Linked DNA regions of Homo sapiens: region 1 is linked to region 2. The links are contacts of gene promoters, found by promoter capture Hi-C in human tissues and cell types (Jung and others, 2019). All regions are on one chromosome and are shown on one strand. Each heading gives the region's core, a stretch centred on a gene start or on the middle of the fragment in contact. The rest is flanking DNA. Distances are from core to core; before and after follow the strand shown.

Region 1 (6,322 bases), core at 2,343-4,842, 140 kb before region 2:
AACAGTAAGCGTGTAAGTGGAATACACATGGTCATTTTATAGCACTTAAAAAAGCACATATTTACACACTGGATTATGAGGTATCTAAGAATTTTTGCAAGAAAACTTAAAAAGCACATCTGTTGCATATGAAAGATAACATCTGATACATTAACAGATTTAGTATATCTGATTAACAAGGAATAGAAAACAAATCTTAGGAATGACAGTACTATGCTTATTAATTCAGGAGCAGATAAAAATGAAGCAGAAAAAAAGAAGAAAGAAACATGGTGAGTTCACTAAAGGAGATTTATAGGTACAGTTGGCCCTCCATATCTGTGAGTTCCACATTCCCAGATTCAACCAACCTCAGATCAAAAATAATAATAACAATAAAAAATAAGAAGCCAAGCATGGCAGCACGTGCCTCTGGTCTCAGCTACTTGAGAAGCTGAGGTGGGAGGGCTGCACAAGCCCAGGAATTGGAGGGCAACCTGGGCAACACAGCAAGACCCCATCTCTTAAAAATAAACAACAACAACAAAATACGAAAATAAAAAATAATACATATTTTATTTCACTTTATTTTATTTTTTGAGACGGAGTCTCGCTCTGTCTCCAGGACAGAGTGCAGTGGCACAATCTCGGCTCACTGCAACCTCCACCTCCTGGGTTCAAGCGATCCTCCTGCCTAAACCTCCTGAGTAGCTGGGATTATAGGCGTGCGCCACCATGCTCGGCTAATTTTTTTATTTTTAGTAGAGACGGGGTTTCACCATGTTGGTCAGGCTGGTCTCAAACTCCTGACCTCAGGTGACCCGCCCACCTAGGCCTCCCAAAGTGCTGGGATTATAGGCATAAGCCACTGAGCCCGACAATAATACATATTTTAAAACAACACAGTATAACAACTCAACTACACAGCATTTACACTGTATTAGATATTATAAGTAATCTGGAGATGACTCAAAATATACAAGAGGATGTGTGCAGGTAATATGCAAATACCATGCCATTTTACATAAAGGACCTGAGCATCAGTGAATTTTGATATCTGCAGAGGATCCTGGAACCAAGGGATAACTCTACATTTCCTAAATCAAAATTTGAGGAAAACAAAATCTGCTTATATTCTTTTTGACATCTAAATAAATATCGTTCTTCTTTTTTTTTTTTTTTTTGAGATGGAGTCTTACTCTGTCGCCCAGGCTGGAGTGCAGTGGCATCAACTCGGCTCACTGCAAACTCTGCCTCCCGAATTCACGCCATTCTCCTGCCTCAGCCTCCTGAGTAGCTGGGACAACAGGCGCCAGCCACCACGCATGTCTAATTTTTTTGAGATGGGGTTTCACCTTGTTAGCCAGGATGGTCTCAATCTCCTGACCTCGTGATCCGCCCGCCTCAGCCTCCCAAAGTGCTGGGATTAAAGGGGTGAGCCAGGGCTCCCAGCCTGTTCTTCTTTAATATGTAAACAATCTTCCTTCTAATCATTTATTCAACACAATTTTTTTAGTACCTACTATAATGTATGAAGGATTGTGTTAGACGCTGTAGATAGGGAGATGAGAAATCATTATCATATTTCTGAAATAGGCCTTGCCTATTACATGCCTGTAATCCTAGCACTTTGAGAGACAGAGGCAGGAATATTGCTTGAGGCGAGGAGTTCAATACCAGCCTGGGCAACATAGCAGGACCCCATCTCTACTTACAGAATACAATAGAATAGAATACAATAGAAGAGAATAGGCCTTTTCTACTTTCTTCACTGCTAGTCCTTTTCATACATCAGTTTTAATTCACATGTGTGAGAACCACATTATTTTACTTACTTACAAATACTTCTACATTTAAGTACATCTTGGAATAAAAAATGTTGAGATGTACTCTCTTAAACAATTTTATATTCTTTATGTCACATATGAAAAGTATAAACAGAGATCCAGCTAATAAGACAATGGGGGAACAGTATGAATAGCATGGGAAGATGACAATAATTTACTTACGGGCAAGAATTATGAAAACTACAAAGCAGCAAATAATATATAATTAATGTTTCTTTAAGGGGCAAATTTTACAATGACAAATGGAAGTGATCTAAATAGATGCAAGAGGAAAAATTTCCTAGCAGTAGGGTAAAAATATAATTAACACAACAGGTTTATCAATAAAACAGAAAATCCATTTCTCCCAGTGACTAAAGTAGCACAGAGTTCTGTTTCACAAATTTGCAATTATGATGCCTGGAGTCTAATAAATAATAGATTTAGCTATATTCAATTTCTTAAAACATTTCCATTTAAAATTATCCAATAATTAGCAAATAATTAAAATTTTAAAAAACAAAATTAAATAGCTAAAAACACCTACCTGTTCTTCTCTTTTTTGTTTTCTAAGCTGTATTCCTTCTTCTTCTCTTCGTCTACGCATCTCTTGAGGATTTAGGGCTTTATTCTTATAACTTTTCATTCTATAGTTATCTTTCCCTGGACTAGCCATGGCATCTTAAAGGAAGGAGAAAAGAAAACAGACACTGATAACTCACTCTCTCAAAACAACATGAGACACTTAATCTAGCAACTAAATTCAGGCTCACTGATTAACAGGTCAACAAAACCCATTCTGAAAATTATGTACAAAGAATACATTCCCTTAATTCCACATCAAGATTAGAGCAAAATGACCACATATTTTAGAAATAATATCTTAAACAAATAATTTTGGTCTAAACAAAGACAAAGTTTACCCTATCTTATTGATTCTAAGATGCAACAACCTTTCCTGTCTCCCTAGCCCCCACAGTGTTTTAACCTTTCTGAAACATAATTACTGTCAGGAAATAATCATGAATTATTTGGGTTAAAAAAAAAGTCTTCTAAATTACAGTTTCTGGCTAGATCAAGAAATAACCAGCTTTGAAGTATCTTATTTTTAATGAAATATGATATTAGGCTCCAGTAAGCACATCTCAAATATTTATTGGGGTCTGGCTTCTTTCACTTACTGAAGGCATTGCCTTAAGAGCTATGGCCACAAGGGTCAGGACTTGAATTATGACTACAATATCAGTTTTTAGTACTCCAGTATAATTAGTTCTTTTGAAATACTAAAATACATGTATACTTTATTTTTAAGTAGTTTTATTGCAAATGTATTTTAAAACATTAACATTTATATACCTATTTTATAAATACATAAAATATATGCAAATATATTTCATATTTGAATATATGTGCTAGTTTTACTTTTAGAAAGTGAATTATAAACTTTAACAATGTAACAGTATTGATATCTTGATATTATCTTATAGGAATATTAAAATACTGATATTATAACCTATTCTGGACTTACACATCACACACACACAAAATCTGCCTAAAGCAGGGTGCCAACTTCAGTTTAACAGTAGATAGTGAGTACCCAGTATGTTATTCTGTTAAATTCAGAGGACATATCCATGTCCAACCAGAGACAATGTTGTGACCAATTAGCTTATGAAGTAAACACAAGAGAAGGAGAGGCTGGCATCTGTCTGCCATCCCTGATATTGAAGAGACAGACTAATGAATTGGCAAATTTTATTGTAAGGAGTACACTAAAATACATGCTTTAAATCTTGAGAGAGCAGTGAAGATATGGCAACTAATTGTGCCTTAGGGACTTCTGAAAGCTTCATGGGTATCCTATTTTAAAGGAAAAACAGGAAAGAGAAATGGGGAGAATCAAGCATTTCAAGCAGAAGGAATATATGCAAAGGCAAAGTTTTTGAAGAAGCCTTGCATAACCAAGAACAGTAAGAGACTAAGTGTGTCCAAAATGAGGATGCATGGCAGAACATAAAGCTATAAAGGTAGGTTAGAGGACATATGGTTCCTATAATGCAGCTGTGAAATTTGGACTTGATCCTAAGGAATAGAATTAAACAAATTAAGGAAAAGGTTGTTTTTACATAGTTCAGAGAGAGAGATAGGAAAGATGCTGAAGGCGTGAACTAAACAAGTTACTACAATGAAAACATAGAAGACAAGTTGGATTCTAGAAATATTTCTGAAATTGATTCAGTAAAAATTAGAGGCCAAATGAATGTAACAGATATCTGGTGAGGAAGAAAAGGGAGTTGAGGATGACTCCATGGTTTTTAACTGAGCCATCTGAGTAGTATGGCAAGATAACATAAGACAGAGAATACGGATGGAGGATCAGAGTAGTGGTTGTTGTGTTTACATATCGGCTTGTTTCTGAGACAAGAATAATGAATTCCGTTATTTTAGGTTTATTTTTAAATTTATATTTAGTAAAAATCACTCTTTTCGTATACATTTCTATGAATTTAACAAATATACATGCATGTAACTATCACAATCAAGACACAGAACAGTTGTCACCCCCTAAAACTCCCTCAAGCTGCTCCTATTAGCCCTCCCTGACCCTTAACATCTGGTAAAAAGTTAATTCTCCATCCCTATAGTTCTGCCTTTTCCTGAATTTCAGAAAAGTGGATTCATACAGCATGTAGTCTTTTAAATCTGACTTCCCAGAAAAAGTATAAAATACCTCAAAATATAGCCAGCCAAGGAGGTGAAAGACCTCTAGAGTGAGAATTACAAAACGCTGCTAAAAGAAATCAGAGATGACACAAACGAATGGAAAAACATTCCATGCTTGTGGATAGGAAGAATCAATATCGTGAAAATGGACATACTGGCCAAAGCAATTTACAGATTCAACACTATTCCTATCAAATTGCCAATGACATTCTTCACAGAACTAGAAAAAACTATTTTCAAATTCATATGGAACCAAAAAAGAGACTGAATAGCCAAGGCAAACCTAAGCAAAAAGAACAAAGTTGGAGGCATCATATTACCTGACTTCAATCTGTACTACAGGGCTACAGTAACCAAAACAGCAGGGTACTGGTACAAAAACAGACACATAGACCAATGAAACAAAATAGCCCATAAATAAGGCCACACACCTACAACCATCTGATCTTTGACAAAACTGACAAAAGGAAGCAATTGGGAAAGGACTCCCTATTCAATAAATGGTGCTGGGATAACAGGCTAGCTACATGCAGAAGATTGAAACTGGACCCCTTCCATATACAAAATAACTCGAGATGGATTAAAGACTTAAATGTAAAACCCAAAACTATAAAAACTCTGGAAGACAACCTAGGCAATATCATTCTGGCCACAGGAATAGTCAGAGATTTCATCACGAAGGGGCTATTGCAACAAAAGCAAAAATTGACAAATGGGATCTAATTAAACTTAAGAGCTCCTGCACAGCAAAAGAATCTGTCAACAGAGTAAAAGACAACCTACAGAATGGGAGAAAATTGTTGCAAACTATGCATCTGATAAAGGTCTAATATCCAGCATCTATAAGAAACTTAAACAAATTTACAAGAAAAATACAAACAACCCCATTAAAAAGTGAGCAAAGGACATGAACAGACACTTTTCAAAGGACATACATGCAGCCAAGAAGCATATGAAAAAAAGGTTAACATCACTGATCATTAGAGAAATGCAAATCAAAACCAGAATAAAATACCATCTCACACCAGTCAGAATGGCTATTATTAAAAGGTCAAAATGAGCCAGGTATGGTGGCTCACACCTGTAATCCCAGCACTTCGGGAGGCAGAGGCGGGAGGCAGAGCCAGGAGGATTGCTTGAGCTCAGGAGTTCAAGACCAGCCTGGGCCACACAATGAGACCCTGTCTCAACAAAATATCAAAACATTACCCAGGCATGGTGGCACGTGACTATAGTCTCAGCTACTCAGAAGGCTGAGGTGGAAGAATCACTTAAGCCCAAAGGTCAAGGCTACATTGGCCATGACCACACCACTGCACTCCAGCCCGGGCAACAGTGAGACCATGTCTCAAAAAGGAAAAGAAAAAAAGTCAAAAAACAAATGTAAATTAGTTCAATCACTGTGGAAAGCAGTGTGGCAATTCCTCAAAGAGCTAAAAATAGAACTACCATTTGGCCCAGCAATTCCATTACTGGGTGTATATCCAGAGGGATATAAATCATTCTACCATAAAAACATGTGCACACAAATGTTCAGTGCAGCAGTTTTTACAATAGGAAAGACATGGAATCAACCTAAATGCCCATCAGTAACAGACTGGATAAAGAAAATGTGGTACATAAACACCATGAAATACTATGCAGCCACAAAAAAGAATGTGATCATGTCTTCTGTGGGAACATGAATGGAGCTAGAGGACATTATCCTTAGCAAACTAATGCAGGAAAAGAAAAACAAATACCACATGTTCTTACTTATAAGTGGGAGCTAAATGAGGAGAACACATGGACAC
Region 2 (6,269 bases), core at 3,143-5,642:
ATAAAGAAAAATTTTTATAATTATGGATGTGTGTGTGTGTGTGTGTGTGTATATATATATATATATATATATATATATATATATATATATATATAATTTAAGATGGAGTTTTGCTCTTGTCGTCCAGTCTGGAGTGCAATGGCATGATCTCGGCTCACTGCAACCTCTGCCTGCCGGGTTGAAGCGATTCTCCTGCCTCAGCCTACCGAGTAGTTGGGATTACAGGCATGCACCACCATGCCCAGCTAAATTTTGTATTTTTAGTAGATACAGGGTTTCACCATGTTAGCCATGCTGGTCTCAAACTTCTGACCTCAGGTGATCCACCTACCTCGGCCTCCCAAAGTGCTGGGATTACAGGCGTGAGCCACCACGTCTGGCTGGAGAGATATTTTTAATATACTTTTATCAGAAATGAATCCATCAAATAAATATCAGAAAATATATAAAATATACAAAGAACAAACTTAGCAAGTTTTGTCTGAGAGTTTTATATATATAAATAATATATAATGTATTTACATTTCAAAACAGCTAGAAAAGAGGTCTTGAAATGTTCTCAACACATACAAATGATAAATACTCAAGATGATGGATACGCTAAATGCCCTAACTTGATCACTGTATATTCTATCCATGTACCTCATAATATCATGTATCAACACAAAAATTTAAAAAAGCAAAGCCTGAAGTGTATATAGTGACATGTTCAGTAAAGCTCAATAGTAAATGCCACATCTTTCCTTAGGCTTATACTTTTATTTTTATTTTTTACATATATGTACATTTTGAGACGGAGTCTCACTCTGTCACCCAGGATGGAGTGCAGTGGCACCATCTCAGCTACTGCAACCTCCACCTCCCAGGTTCAAGCGATTCTCTTGCCTCAGCCTCCCAAGCAGCTAGGATTACAGGTGCCCTCCACCACACCTGGCTAATTTTTTTGTATTTTTAGTAGAGATGGGGTTTTGCCATGTTGGCCAGGGTGGTCTCGAACTCCTGACCTCAGGTGATCCACCGACCTCGGTCTCCCAAAGTGTTGGGATTACAGACGTGAACCACCATGCCTGGCCTTCTTATGTTTAAAATTTTATATTTAAAAATGAACTTAATTAAAGTACAGATGGTCCCCACCTTACAATTGTGTGAAGGCAATACACATTCAGGAGAAACCCTACATCAAACATGCACACAACCATTCTGTTTTTTATTGTCAGTGCAGTATTCAATAAATTACATGAGATATTCAATACTTTATTATGAAATAGGCTTTCTGTTAGATGATTTTGCTCAACTGTAGGCTAATGTAAGTGTTCTGAGCATGTTAAGGTAGGCTAGCTTAAGCTATGCTGCTCGGTACATGAGGTATATTAAATGCACTCTGACTTCTGAATGGTTTGTCGGGATATAACCCTATCACAAGTTGAGGAGCATCTGTATAAGGGGAGTGAGGAAGTGGGGAAGGAAATTGTAGACCATTCTTTCAGGGAAGTATGTAGTAAAGGATGGAGCATAGATTGATTAGAAAACATTATTGGATTGTAAAATTCTTGCTGTAAAGGAGTTTGTAGATGATAAATTCCCAAGTTTTACTATTGCTTACTGTTGAAAGAACTAATCACTTCATCTGCAGTGCCAATGTGTAACTTGCTAATGACTGTGAATGATTACATTTATGAGTAATCAATTTTCTTAGTTCTTTTGTGATGCTATAATACTTCAGACTAGTATAAACACCAGAAATTTATTTTTTACAGTTCTGGAGGTTGGGAAGTACAAGATCAAGGTGCTGGCATTGTTTTTTGGCAAGGGCTCTTCTCTGCTTCCAAGATGGCACCTTGTTGCTATATCCTCACATAGCAGAAGAGCAACAAAAGTCTAAGCTATTTCCTTCCAGCCCTTTTATAAGGTGCTAATTCATTCATAAGGGCAGAGCCTTCATGACCTAATCGCTTCCCCAAAGGCCCCAACTCTTAAAACTACCACAATGGGCATTAAGTTTAAACACATAAATTTTAGGGACATTCAGACCTTTGCCTTCTCTGATAGTTTGCGGGTGATCATACAACCGACAGATCAGCGGATGTCATCCTCTATTAGCACCTTCCCAAGTGTCTACTCTGCTGCCCATGTATTCCCAAAGGACCAGCATAGGGGCATAGCTCAATTCACCATTTACTTGGGTTGGTTGACTGCAGTGCAGTTTTACCAGACTGAAGAATGTGTCTTTCTCCTAACCCCAGTTCCAGATTTAGTCCTAACAAGACTAAAGAACTCTTAGTAAAACAGGAAAAACTTTGCTTATGCATTATCTTGGAATAATTCTTTCCTAGTTGGCTGCCAGGGCAGACATTATAGATCATGTACCCGCTTGAAACATCATCTCTGTGCTTTCTTCTATTTAAGGGAGGAGTACATTTACATTAAAAAAGGAGTCTGGGGAACACAGGGCTCACTTGCATCCTAAGAGCTGCTGAAGACTAGCAGGTTTCATAGACTGAAAACCAGCAAACCAGTGTCCCCTGTGATGATGAGTACAGCTGTGGTCGTGAAGGTTGTGCTTTGTACAGTAGCACCTGGCAGGGGCTCTGCTCCTTCCTTAAGCTCGTGTCTTGACTGGAAGGTCAATGGAGCAGAGGGGAGCCATGTCAGTCTGAAGTAAAAGCCGGCTTTTTCTAATACATCCAATGACATCCCGAATTCTCCCGATGGCCATAATGTGACCATACCACAGCCATTAGAGTTTGGTGAAATTGATTCCAGTACCGCCATCACCTCGCAGCAAGCACACAGGCCCTTTGTAGGTTATTCTCTGGGGTATCTTACTCAGAACTAGGATTGCCCACAAATTGACCCAGCAACATGCTGTCCCTGCACCTTAGTAAGCTTTTTGAGTCTGCCTCTAAAATAGTTTGCTCTAACATAATTAGAGTGTGTGCGGTACAAAATAAATTTGACTTGGAATCATCAAAATTAGCCCAAATCCCTTCTTGTTGCCAACATCCAGATAACCTTGAATACATTTCTCAACCTCTCTACTTTTAGATTCTTATCCTGTAAAATGGCCATGATTACAGTACTATTTCACAGATTGTATCTGAATTAAAATGAGATGAAGAGAACGAAAACCATGTTGTAAACTGTAAATTTGATATACATATAAGTCGTTATTATTTGCTACTGAAAAACTCTCCACCCCATACCCCACAACTAAGTGAAATTAATTTTCCTGAGATCATAGTGTCATAGAACATATGCAGTGATGGAAATGCCTTAGGTATTGTAGAATTCCATTCAATTTATCCAACCACAAGAATAACCTATAGTAACTAGTTATTATATGGTGCATTTTAATGTGTTTTACGGTACGCCTCGTCTCTTTGGTTCTCACAATTATTCTGTGAGGTGAGTGATATTGTTGCCATTTTGCAAATGTGGAAACTGAGTCATAGAGCAATAAAATGGCTTGCCCAATGCCACACAGCCAGTAAATGGTAGGGCTGCAACAGCCTGAGCCTTCCAAATCCTCCTAGGTTCTTTCAACTACACCACACTTTTCGTCAAAGTATTCTTGAGTTTGTCACTTTATAGCAAGAATTTTCCAGAACAAATAGGACTAATGGACTCAAACTATAAGTAGAAGAAAATTACTTTCCTAAACTGAGTTTTCCGCTTCCATTTCTGGAAAGATTTTGATCCTACTCTGCACCCTGCAGTTGTCAAGGTGAAAGGATTTTTTTATTTGAACTTTAAGTATTTCTGCGTAAATAAAGAGAGCCTTCAATAGCTTACGTCTCAGGAGCTCTCAAAAGAAAGCTAAGGGCTTACTTTCTCTATCAGAATCATTATACATTATGATACTGTAGAGCGCCCATTTTGAACAACAGTTTTGTAAGAAAATATTGCCCATTCTATCACTCCTTAATGTTGTTGATTGCTGCTAATGAAAAGCAAAAAAGTTACCAGATATATTTGAATACTGTAATCACACAAGATAGGGATCTATGGTTTTGGGGACAGTGTGATAACCATTGGTGTAGTTGAGGGATCACGTTTTAACTCAGGATTTATTACCTACAGATTGCTGATCTTGTCTCTCTAATTCTTACAACAATCAATCCAAGACTGAATAATGCTAACATTTAGATCTATCTTGGATTGCGAAGGTTTCTGTTTCTGATTTTAAAACAATGTCTTGGCCTGAGAACAAAACACCACTCTTGAACTCCCTCGGGCTAAAGAATTTTTTGAGTTGCAGTGCTTCAGGTCTGACTTCACATTATCAGCTTTTATGGCTCTAGATTACAATTCATCCTTACAAATGAAGCAGTTATTTGATCCATGGCAAGTTACGTGGCTATAAGACAATCCTGTTGTTCATGGTTTTTTTCCCTCTTCAGCTCAGCAAAGAGCAAAAGCAGCAGAGTGCAGAAGCAGCACTCCTGTCTCAAAGCGAGGAAGAGCTTACAAAAACAAAACAAAAAGACATGGACTGATACACCTCTAAGAAACAGGCAAAAGAAGAGAAATTGAAGATCATATTCTTCATCTATCAAGCACTATGTCTCGCCCTGCACACCGAAGACCAGAATACCATAAAATAGTAAGATCTTTCTACAAAGAGATTTTTTCTACTTCAGAGAAAATGTTTTCTTGAGTGATTTCTGATTGATTTTAAAAACTGATGCTATAAGAATTTTTAGTGGAGGAAAGACAGTGTTCAGCGAAGTGAATCATAAATGACACATCTAGGAATAATTATGATTATCTCCTACATAAAGAATAATCAATTCTTTATACACACTTTAAGGTCTTCTTTTCTGACTAATTATATCAATATGAGTGTCAATTTTTTCACCTCTGACAGAAAATATGAAAATATTAGCAATTTTTTCTATTTCATACTTCAGGAAATGGGAACTTACATATATATGTATATGTATATATATGTATGTATGTATATATATATGTGTGTATATATATAGTTGATTATGTGTAAAACTGAATCGAAATAGGTCATCAAAAAAGGATTGCCTTTAAAAATGTTTCCTAGTCTTATTGTAGCTTGGTATGTAATATCATCCTTTCTATATATTCCAGGTTAAGAGTTATTTATAAACCTTATTTTTTTGCAGATTAGTTTTAAATAATATTCTTTAATACTCTCTTATAGTTTTAGTCACTCAGATACTACAGATACAAAAACTCACTGTTAACTTTAAAATTCTGTTAATTATGTCAGGAGACTGATGGGCATTTGATATAATTAAGTAATTTCAGACTTGGTGTTTAGAATTGTAGTGACTAACTAGCATACTTCAGTTTGAAATGCCTGCAGATACCTCCTCTGGCCTTCTGGGATCTTGATTTATTTTCCTGTGGGACTCTCAAGTGCTAAAAATATATGGTACATAGTTCATATTATACCGAAATCACTTGATTTTATAAAGCAGTTAAAATGTATTTTTATCCTGATACATTCATAACCTACTGAAATAGTTAATGATGTTCTTTCAGATATTCATATGATTATTTTTATTGTTTTAAAAACGATAAAGATAAACTTATGTTGACCTTTCCTGGCATCTGTGGTATGGATTTGAGACCCAATTGAACAGATAGTTCAAGGTACAGTCCTTGGCCATGAAGCAGAATAGAGAAAGCTGGCCTTTATGGGTACTGAACCAGAAACTCAGCTGGAAATAAAATAGATTTCAATATATAATAGTGCCCACCCATCAGGGACAGAGAAGAAATTCCACTATTTCAGTTTGGCCTTAATTATAAAGGGACACAATGTTGGGGCCATGGCATGTAGGTAGGGTATGATTTTTTCTACTTTTCTCTTTTTCAAATTCTTTTGTTTTACTGCTAGTCACAACAATCTCATCATTCTCTCTCTCTCTCTCTCTCTCTCTCTCTCTTCTTCACCTTTGCTTATCTTTATGCTGTAGCATTAGTACATGGCAGCACTTTGTCTTCTGCTGTGGCTCTTATATGTTGAGCAGACTTTTCATTGATAATTTACCAGCATTTCTTGTGATTTATTATTAGGTTCTTGGAAAAACCCTAAGCCAAACCTAAATTGTCTTAAGTTTTAGTTTTCATTTATAATTTACTCTAAAAATGGGACATATTTTGGAGAACTATAAGGAAATATCACATTCCCCTTTTTTCTCTAAGTAAAAAGAAAAGAAACTCACAAATTTGCTGCTACATTTGGGTTTATCCTGAAGGTCTCCTTGGCAGATCTGGGGGCCATTAGGGAT

Evidence for each region. Contacts are between HindIII fragments. The study calls those that stand out against the background at their distance.
Region 1: a fragment that was not itself captured here is called in contact with the fragment with the promoter of TRAPPC3L in region 2 in 2 of the 25 tissues and cell types used here (bladder and small bowel).

The regions. Positions count from the first base shown.
Region 1 is chr6:116,685,484-116,691,805 of GRCh38, reverse strand. KPNA5 (karyopherin subunit alpha 5) reads right to left here. Exons shown (of 14, transcript NM_001366306.2): 2 at 2,353-2,486. Among named protein-coding and RNA genes, the nearest start is that of KPNA5, 7.4 kb to the right of the region's middle. The HindIII fragment of the contact is 8,380 bases long and covers 1-6,322 here.
Region 2 is chr6:116,543,807-116,550,075 of GRCh38, reverse strand. TRAPPC3L (trafficking protein particle complex subunit 3L) reads left to right here and starts at 4,392. Exons shown (of 5, transcript NM_001139444.3): 1 at 4,392-4,603. The coding sequence starts at 4,562. It also overlaps a transcript of CALHM4 not described here. The HindIII fragment of the contact is 13,462 bases long and covers 1-6,269 here.